Regions from separate parts of the Homo sapiens genome. Here region 1 is linked to region 2. The links are contacts of gene promoters, found by promoter capture Hi-C in blood cells and fetal thymus (Javierre and others, 2016). All regions are on one chromosome and are shown on one strand. Each heading gives the region's core, a stretch centred on a gene start or on the middle of the fragment in contact. The rest is flanking DNA. Distances are from core to core; before and after follow the strand shown.

Region 1 (3,130 bases), core at 631-3,130, 170 kb before region 2:
GAATTGTCCTCTTCTTTTCCTCGTTGAAGGCAATGTCAAGGCCTTTTCTGCACATCATCCCGCAGACTTGACTTCCTATGGAGATGTTTGGACCGGTCAGCTTGGTGGTGGGGTGTGAGTCCTTCTCAGAAGATTTCTACTCTCCTCTGGTCCAGGATGTAGGAGATCCCAGAGGATAGGGCACTCTTGGGCCCGCAGAACAGAATGGAGCCATGGAATTCTGTCCCTTTTGGAACATGATTGCCAGGGGTCAGCAACAAAGGCCATAGCTTTCCTCCTAGGCCTGGCTTCAGGCTAGAAGTCTCCCAAGGGCTAGGGCAAGCTGCTGCCTTGCTGATATGGTGGAAAAGTGATGATAATGTTCAGTGATCAGTTGGGATTCCAAGGGCAGAAATTGAGCTTTGCTGGAAAAGGGTGTTTTTGAGTGGGTGTCTCCTGGCTGAAATGGAATAGGAAGCTTCATTCCCACCTGAGGAGGGCACCACAGGCCTCCTTATCCAACTTGGTGCTTTCTGGTGCTCAGCCACAGATCTAGGATGGTTTCAGATAGATCCTCTAGGAGGTGTTGGGTAAGCGAATTTCTTCCTTCTTGGAGTCTGGCCACAGATTTCTGAGGTATCCTTGTCCATGGTGAGGGAGTGGCAGTGGGTAGAGGGTCAGGAAGGCTAGTGGAAGGGAGAGGCAGGAGTCCTGGGCAGCCTCAAGGAGGCACTCCCTGAAGTGGTTGGGCAAGCCTGTGGGAAAAAGAGGCATAGCTGACGTAGGGGGTAGTTGAGGCCTGAATTCCTTTTTTCTATCTTGGACTGACTTAGGCAGGCTGGCCTTGTGTAGGTGTTGTTACCCTGCTTTGGGGCATCAGGAAGGGGAAGAGTGACATGTCCCAGGTGTGCATGGCCAGCAGGAGGCCGTCCTTTTCACTGCTCAACAGTGTGCTTCTCTCTAATCCAGGATACCTGGCTCTCTGGTTTGGTTTTGTTTTTTCCTTCTCTATGGCAGCTCCTAGGCCACCTTTAGGCAGCTGGCCTTCTTCTGGTTGAAGTTTGAAGTACTCGCTCAAGTGATGCTTGGGCCCAGGGTGGGAACCTGTATATGGGTGGGTACCTGGGAATTGGAGGTTTGCTGGAGGAAGGATGGTTTGGGGCCTGAATTGCTGGGCAGGTGACTGCTACGCTTGGGAAAGATGGGTGGGAGGAGAGTGTGGGTACCCTGAGTAGACCCAGTGGAGTTTGGAAGGATCTTGCTTTCTTCATCAGGTAGCCAGCCTTTTTTTTATCACCACATCCCAGTAATACCAACATACATTTGGCATACAGTAGTCTGGAGATGAAGGCAGGCGGTTTGCAGGGCCTTCCCAGGTATCTGTTGCATCCATGGCTCCTGCCGTAGCATTCCAGGGCTGCCATTTCCTGTCAGGTGCTTGATGTTGCACTGATTGTCTAGAACTTGATTCAGCAGGAAAGAAGGGTGCCCGGAGTTTTGGGTTTGAGCACCTTTTTAGCTGGGTTACCTGTGCTGAGGGGAGTGCCCTATCCTGATGAGAGGCAAGAGGGCATGGGGAGCTTGTCTGGATTTGAGCCATACCATTTTGGCCTGCCTGTTTTTTTTTTTTTTTGTCCCTGCTTACTGAGCCCCAGATGTTTGCCACCTGCTTTGGCTGGTAGGGGCAGGGGAGTGTGGTCTGTGTATGCATGCAAAATATGAGTCCTCTAGCCCATTTTCTAAAAGTGTGTGTGCAGAAGAGGTCAACAGTTTTTCTTCTCTTTCACTGTCTCTCCCCCCCGCCCACGTGTATGCATGTATGTATGAACATTGATGTCTGGTGTAGTGCAAAGGCCTTGGATCAGAGGTCAGAAGACGTGGGTTCTTGGCCCCACCACTAACTCAGCATGTAATTTTGGAAATTTCACTTTTTTTCTCTGAGCCTCACTTTCCCCATTTATAAAATGAGAACATTGGTTTAGGTTACTTTAGGTTGATTTCACCACCCCAGCAGGAGCCAGGGCTCTGGGAAGGAGAGGTCTGCATAGGAGGTTGGAAAGGGGTGTTGGAGAGGGGGTTCTTCACAGCTGACCTTTGGGCAGGACACAGCAAGCTCCAACTTGGCAGAGCAGAGTGTCTCCCACTTTCATGATCTTTCCCTGACTTCCCTCCCCAAATCCTCCCATTCTTTGCCACCACAGTCAGGCATCCCAGCACTTACCCCCACCCCCTGGGGCTTCCTCCCCTGCCTCTTCCTGTACCAGGCAGGTGTATGAGAGAGGATCTACAGGAAGCCTTCCAGACTGGGTGAGTGATACACATACTTGCTCCCTGTTCCTTGCTCTTCCCTGCAGTGTCTATCTCAGGCCCTTTAAACTGAGAGAACAAACATTAAAGGCCCAAACCTTTACGTCCTGCCACAATCGGACCTGAGCTACCCTGCATGTGTATTGTGAGGTGTGGTCAGCCTTAGATGTCAGGTCATAACGGTGACTCCTTTGAATAACATTTTCATTTGAAAACTAGTTTTAATTTTCCATATTGGTCTGGCAAGGAAGCCAGGGCTAGAGTTCATATTCCCACCTCACAGATGAGAAAACAGGTTCAGAAAGCTAAAATCTCATAGCTAGTAAGTAGCGGATCTAGAACATGAACCCATATCTTCTGACTCTAGATCCTGTGTGCTTTCCAGTACTCCCAGGCCTGTGTGTCCTACAGCACGTGCCTAGGGGATAAGGAATTAATGTGGGTGTGGAGAAGGTTTAGGGTCAACAAAACAGAGGCTCCATCTCTTAATTTCTTGAAATCCTGGCACTGTACTGTTGGGTGGGACTCAGGAGAAGTTTCCTAGGGCATGTGCATGGGGCCTTGGGTGCAGACTTGAGGGGCTGCTAGACTCTTGTGAGTTCTGGGGGGAGGTGGGGGTGGGTGGTTGGGTAGGATGTTTGCAGGTTAAAGGGTCTGGAGTGGCTAGAGGTTTGGGAAGGTGCCAGTGGGATTCCGAGCTGCTTTTGGTGACTTCCGGTCTTACACTATGCTGAGATAACTCAAGTCCCTTTCCCCTCTCTACCCTCTCAGGACTGGCAGCCACCCTTTGCTGTGGAAGTGGACAACTTCAGGTTTACCCCCCGAATCCAGAGGCTGAATGAGC
Region 2 (7,317 bases), core at 254-2,753:
TTGTTCCTGGCCCCTGCAGGTTGTCATGGGATTGGTCTTTGCCCCCACAGAACCATCAGGCAGCCTAGGGCCTGGAAGTGCTCCCCACCACCACTTCACTGTCCTTTAGCCCTACAGTGACTTCCTCCCCCTAGCTGGGAATCGGCAACATCTTCAGTGGTGAGTGAGCAAAACTCTGCTACCTGTAGGGAGAGATGGGGAGGTGGGGAGGGTGGAAGGAAGGAAGGAAGGAAAGGAGGAAAGAAGGAGTGGGGGATGGTCTGGGCTGGGAGCAGCTTCTCTGTCATGTCTACCCACCTGCTTGCTACCCAGGTGCACACACACACACACACACACACACACACACACACACACACCCGGCCAGCAGGCCAGGGATCCTGGAGGAGAGTGGAGGAGGAGGGAGAGGGAGAGGAGCAGCCGCAAGAGGCTGAGCCTGCCCAGGGTGCAGGCATTGTGAAGGGAACACGGCCGCCGGGCTCCCAGGCATCCCTTCCACAGCCAGCACACAAGGAAAGATTAACACAGCCTCATGCCCAAACGCAACCATGATGATAAAAACAGACCCTGTGAGGGGAAACAGGTGGTGGTTCCCTTTCTCATGGGACATTTGGGATTGGGGAAGATGGGGGGAAGATGAGGAGTCCCCAGGCTTGGGTACCAAGGAGCCCCTTGATGGAGCAGAAAGAGACTAACAGAGTCAGACAGAGACAGAGAGCATGGCAGTGATGGAGACTCTGAAGTATGTGTGGGGAGACAGAACAGAAGTCCCAGCCCCCCATCCTTGGTGGAGGGATGCTGACTGCTTACCTTGGCTCTCTCAGCAGGGATGTCTTGGAATCCACGATGGGGCTCAAGCTGTCTCACCCAGGTAAATCACAGCCCGGGCCACATTGTGGGACCCTCAGTGATCTGGCGGCCAGTGACACTCCTGCTTCTGTTGCCGTGGATACAGCCGGGCTGGTCTAAATCGCAGGCATCAGGGAAAGCAGGCACCGGAGGGGTGCACTGGGTAGGGCTGGGGGTGTTGGGGAACACCAGGTGGGCAGCACACAGCCTTGGGGTGTCCAACTAGCTGGCAGGTGGGGGTCCCGGCAGGTGCTTCCTCCACTATACACTCCCACTCCCATCTTCATGCCACTGCCAAGCTGGGAGGGGGGCCAGTGCTGGCCCCTGCTACCCGTCTGCCTGCCTGGCTGCCGGTCCCCCTACCCCCCCCACCCCCCACCCCCCCCCTCCGTCTGCCTGCTGGCCGCCGCCTTTTGTCCTCAGAAGACACGGTCCCCGCGGGGCCTCTGCCAAGCCTCCAGCAGATGCTCAGGGTCCGGGGCTCCTCCCTGGGAGCACACGGGCCATGGCCTGGGAGAGCCCCAGGTTGGGGGGGCTCTCATCCAGGCTCACCCCGCTCCCCGGGCCTGGCGGGGATGGGGAAGAGGTGCAGGTCCACAGCCAGAGGCAGCAGCAGAGGTGGTGTTGGGGAGGGGATGGACGCCAGAAAGAGGGGGTGGGGTGGAGAGAGAGGCTGGCCTGATAGCCGTGTCCCGGGTTTTAGATCCGGGTTGAGGAGGGTGGCTCAGAGCATCCGAGGGGGGTCCTCATGCAAAACGAGGGCACCAAGGGCCTGCCAGAGGGACCCTCCTGGCCTGGGAACCACCCCGGTGCACACAAATCCAGGTCCCACGATGCTGGGGACACCCAGCCTGGATAGAGCATCAGTGGGGAGTCCGGGGCCCTAAGCTGGACCCCATCAGGCCTGTCCGTCCCCCCTCTCCTCGATTTGCACGGTCCCTGCCTCAGGGGCGGGCGGAGGAGGAGGGAGGCAGGGAGGGAGAGGGAGGGAAGGAGGAAGGCTGAGCAGGCAGGGAGACTCCCAGCTGCCAGCCTGGTCCTCCCTGGGGCGGGGCGGGGAGCGGGGGGGGGGGCGGGGGGTGCTGGCGAGGCCAGGGAGCAGCCGGCTGGCTGACTGGGTGGGGACGCTGGCGTGGCGGCTGTGCTGCCAGGACAATAGCTGGCTGGGGAAGTCAGGCTCGGGCCTTTCTGAGATGCTCGAGAGAGGCATGAGTGGAGGTGGGGAGAGATGGCCAAGAGGCTGCTGAGAGAGCAACTCACATGGGCTACAAGTGCAGAGGAGGCAGGGCATAGAGGACGCTAGGATCTGGGTCGGGACAAAGGTCCGGCGAAAGTTTCTCAAAAGCTTTGGGCTGGGAGGCATGCTTAGGGCCCGGAGAGGTGGGATTCATAAACTGATTTAGAATGGGGTTCTATGGGCATTTTCCCTGCAAGGCCTGGAGGTTGGCTGGGGGGTTGGGGTGGGAAAGGAGCGCTGCCCAACTCTGAACAGCCCCTCTCAGGATATCTCCTGTGCCATCCCCACTTTCTCGGGGCCAGCAGACAGGCAGAACCCATACTTAAAGCCATGTCCCAGGACAACAGAATAGGAGAGGTGAGGAGAACGCTTGGTAGGCAGAGATATGAAGACAAGGAAAAAAATATTTGTTTCAAATATGATTAAATTGGGACCAAATGATGCTTCAGTGGTTCCCCTAAGTTACAGCATTCAAGAATTCAAATTATCTTGATATAAGAAATTGTGTTTTATTTCCTTTCTTCCTTCATCCATTGGTTCCTTCATTTATGACAAATGGTTTTATGTTAGGCCCAGTGCTGGGCACTAACAGTACCGGGTGACTCAGACCTATGCTCTCTGCCCTTAGGAAATGCAGGCTCTGCTACCAGACTGTGGACCTGGAACCCACTTGCATCTGAATCCCCTGGAGAACTTGTAAAGTGTAGATACCCAAGCCTACCTCCCAGAAATACTAATCTAGGAGGTTTTCAGATGGGGCTTCAAAACCTGCCTTTTGACAAGGCCCTCCGGTGGTCATTTTTATGCCCACATGCTTTGGGGAGGGAGAAAAATCCATGGAAAATTAGAAAATGTTTTGGAGGCCGGGTGTAGTGGATCATACCTGTAATCCCAGCACTTTCGGAGGCCAAGGCAGGAGGATTGCTTGAGTTCAGGAGTTTGAGACCACCCGGGACAACATATTGAGACCCCGTCTTTATAAAAAATTTAAACCTTATCTGGACATGGTGGTGTGCGCCTGTAGTCCCAGTTACTTGGGAGGCTGAGGTGGGAGGATCACTTGAGCCCAGGATGCTGCAGTGAGCTGTGTTCTCACCACTGCACTCCAGCCTGGGCAACAGAGCAAGACTCTGTCTCGAAAAACAAACAAAAAAAGGCAAAACGGGCTGGGCACGGGCTCACGCCTGTAATGCCAGAACTTTGTGAGGCCAAGGCAGGCAGATTGCTTGAGCTCAGGAGTTTGAGAAAAGCCTGGCCAACATGACAAAACCCTGTCTCTACTAAAAATACAAAAATTGGCAGAACGTGGTGGTGCGCACCTGTGGTCCCAGCTACTCCAGAGACTGAGGTAGGAGGATTGCTTAAGCCCAGGAGGTCGAGGCTGCAGTGAGCCGAGATCGTACCACTCCACTCCAGCCTGGGCGACAGAGCAAGACTCTGTCTCAAAAAAAAAAAAATGGCAAAACAATAAGTCTTCTAAAATATGATGTAAGAGAATATCTTTATAACTTTGGGGTAAGGAAGGAATTAAACAAGACAAGAAGTAATTACCATAAAGGAAAGGAGTGATACATTGAACAGCATTAAAATTTAAAACTTCTGGTTATCAAAAGATACCATTAAAATAGTGAAAAGATAAGTCATAGAATTAGATAAAATATTTGCAAAGTATATATCCAGTAAAAGGCTCATATCCAGAATATACAAATAACTTTTACCAACCAATAAGAAAAAGACAGATAACCCAAAAGAATAACAGACAAGATACTTGAACAGGGACCTTGCAAAAGAGGATAGCCAACTGGCCAAAAACTTAGGAAAATGTGCTAAACCTCATTGGTAGTCAAGAAAATACAAAATGAAACCATGCTCACTAGATTGACTAAAAAGAAAAAGACAATACCGAATATTGGTGAGAATGTGGAGTGATAAGAGCTCTCATACAGTATTGATGAGAGTATAAATTGATATAGCCACTTTGGAAACTGTTTAGCAATATCTACTAAGGCGACCACGTGCATACTTCATAACCCAGCAGTTCTACTTTTAGGTATGTGCCCATCCAAAATGCATATATATGTTTACCAAAAGACATTGTGGTAATGTTCATAAAAGCACTATTTGTAACAGTGCAAACTGGAAACAACCCAAATACCATCAATAGGAGAATGAAAAATAAATTGTGGTATATTTGCACATTGGAATAGTATACATCAATGAGAAGAAATGACTTACAACTACAATATGGATGAATCCCACAAACATTACACTGAGCAGAATAAACCAGACAAAAGAATACTGTATGATTCCATACATATAAAGTTCAAAACCAGGCAAAACCAATGTATTGTGATAGAAGTCAGAATAGTGATTACCATTGGGGTCTGAGTAGGAGGCCTAAAGAGACATTCTTTCTTTCTTTTTTCTTTTCTTTATTTTTATTATTTTTTTTTTTGAGATGGAGTCTCACTCTGTCGCCCAGGGTGGAGTGCAGAGGCACCATCTGGGCTCACTGCAACCTCTGTTTTCCGGATTCAAGCAATTCTCCTGCCTCAGCCTCCTGAATAGCTGGGATTACAGGCGGCCACCACCATGTGTGGCTAATTTTTGTATTTTTAGTAGAGGCGGAGTTTCACCATGTTGGCCAGTAGAGGCTGGATTCGAACTCCTGACCTCGGGTGATCTGCCCACCTCTGCCTTCCAAAGTGCTGGGATTACAGGCATGAGCCACCGCGCCAGGCCAAAGAGACTTTTTAGAGTGCTGGGAATGTTCTGGTTCTTGATTTTGGAGCTGATTACTCAGGTGGCTTAGTAACAGTTCATCGAGAGTGTTCATTTATATGTCTCGAGTGCTTTTCTTTTATTTTGTTTCTTTTTATTGAGACAGAGACCCACTATGTTGCTCAGGCTGGTCTTGAACTCCTGGGCTCAAGCAGTCCTCCTGCTTCCCAAAGTGCTGGGATTACAGGCATGAGCCACTGCTCCTGACTTCAAGTACTTTTCTCTTCTCTTTTGAAGGGAAAGGCAAGAAGCTTTTATTGCAAGGCAAAAGTAAACACTTAAGAGAGAGAAGTGCGGGCGTGTTTGTGAGAACGAGTTGCACAGAAGGGAGTTTGGGTTTCTAATTTTATGGGTGTTTCTTTAATTAGGGGGTGGAATAATCATTAGATGTTCTAGAAAAGGAGGGGATTTCAGCTCCCCCACTCTGGTTACCACCCCTTTTCTCCCTTATTTGGGTTTTCCCAGAAGAGTCATGGACATGTCACCCTGGCTGGGATTCTGGCCATTTTCTCCCCCTTATTTCAGATTTTCTGTTATCCCATTGTTTCTTTGCCTAGTTCTTGTTTTAGCTGTTGTTTGAGTTTTTTCATCCTCCTGTAACCACCCAGTGCTCTTCCTAATTCATTCACCCTTCAGAGATTTCCATCCCTTATTCTTAAGGGTTGATGAGGGAGGAGGCCAGTCATCTGTATCTTCTTCTTGCTAATTTAAGGGTGCTGGCCTTGCCTGTCCAGGGATTGGAAATCTCTGGATGCCTGGTCTAAGGGTCCCCAGGGTGCATCAGCAGGTGAGTCCGATTCCGAGACAAGAATTGGCTGGAATCCTTGCATGATCATCATCTTTACATGGAACTGCTGTAACCTGGAAGATATAAACTTTGCCCAGGCCTAAAGATGAGGCTTTGGTTAGCTTGAGCTTGGTGTCAGATACTGGCAGAAGTCAGTGCCTTCTTTAGATGAGATACGTGTACCCAAGTGTCAAAGCCCTGTAAAGTTCTGCGTGGCTGGGAGGCCTCAGGAAACTTACAAGCGTGGTGGAAGATGAAGGGGAAGCAAGGACCTTCTTCACATGGTGGCAGGAGAGAGAAAATGAGTACTTTATGTGTTATACTACTTCAATACAAAGTTTTTAAAAATGAAAAAGTAAAAGAGGCAATCAGATTGTTTCATTACAGTGTGAAGTGAAGGTGGGAACTGAGAGCTGTGGGAGCCCAAAAATGTCAGGGGCGGGGTGGGGAGAAGTGTTGACACCCAAGGTCAGTGTGGAAGAAGTGGAAGTGAGTCGGAAGTTTAAGAGGCAGCATAGTGCAGTGGCTAAGAGCACTGACTCGGGCACCAGACTGCTTGGGTTTGAATCCATGCCTCTTACCCTCCTTGTGCCTCAAGTTCCTTATCTGTTAAATGGGGTGATAATAGTGCTTACAATAGGGTTGTGAGGATAAATGAGGTAATATCTGTGAAGTGTTCGGAACAGTGTCAAGACATAATCAGTACCATATACCTCTTAATTCCATTTAAAAAGGTGACTAGGTGAGTGAAACAGCCTGTACAAAGGCTTGGGGGGTCCCAGAGGGTAGTGTGTTTGGAGCATGCTGGAAGCAATTTGATGTTGCCTGATGAGGGATGCTCAGGAGGCAGGGATGAGACCCTGAATGCCAGCCTAAGGATCTCAGACTTTATCTCAAGACAGGGATCTTGACCTGGACTCCTGCTATCTCAGTTTGCCCTCAGTTAGCCTTCACTCATGACCTTCCAAGGCCGTCAAGAGAAAGGATTGTTCTGTTGTTGGCGATGGTGAGGAACAGTGATGGGGAAGGAATGCCTTGCGAAGGAGGGTGGGAGGGGCCAGCTGGACTGAACGCCCCCCCACACACTCACTATCCACTCTGAAGCAGCTTTCCTCCCTTTGCAGTGGGAGGAGAGGGTTCTCCAGAAAGACCTGTCTTTATGAGATGAGCACACAGAAATCATCAGGCAGAGTTGTAGGGAGAGAAGACAGGGGGAACAAGGGAAACTGAGTCATGCACTTGTAGCCACAGTCCCCCTGCTTTTCTTTTTTGAGACAGAATCTCACTCTGTCACCTGGGCTGGAGTGCAATGGCGTGGTCTTGGCTCACTGCAAACTCTGCCTCCCGGGTTCAAGTGATTCTCCTGCCTCAGCCTCCCGAGTAGCTGGGATTACAGGCTCCTGCCACCACACCCGGCTAATTTTTGTATTTTTAGTAGAGACGGGGTTTTGCCATGTTGGCCAGGCTGATCTCGAACTCCTGACCTCAGGTGATCCGCCCATCTCGGCCTCCCAAAGTGCTGGGATTACAGGCGTGAGCCACTGCGCCCGGCCCACAGTCCCCCATTTTGAATCAACTCCAACACTGCAGGAATGGAAGAGACCTGATTCCTTTCTGCCTGTGCCCCTCTGTTTATCACCCTGAGCAGGCAGGGAGATAAGCAGGT

Evidence for each region. The method cuts DNA at HindIII sites, captures the fragments that hold promoters and counts their contacts. A CHiCAGO score of 5 or more calls a contact.
Region 1: a contact is called between a fragment that was not itself captured here and the fragment with the promoter of GPR173 in region 2, in 6 of 17 cell types (megakaryocytes, activated CD4 T cells, fetal thymus and 3 more). The highest score is 7.5, in megakaryocytes.

Annotation. Positions count from the first base shown.
Region 1 is chrX:53,220,844-53,223,973 of GRCh38, reverse strand. It overlaps KDM5C (lysine demethylase 5C), which reads left to right. Exons shown (of 26, transcript NM_004187.5): 2 at 3,058-3,130. Among named protein-coding and RNA genes, the nearest start is that of KDM5C, 2.8 kb to the left of the region's middle. The HindIII fragment of the contact is 2,841 bases long and covers 460-3,130 here.
Region 2 is chrX:53,042,975-53,050,291 of GRCh38, reverse strand. GPR173 (G protein-coupled receptor 173) reads right to left here and starts at 1,503. Exons shown (of 2, transcript NM_018969.6): 1 at 808-1,503. The HindIII fragment of the contact is 17,268 bases long and covers 1-2,193 here.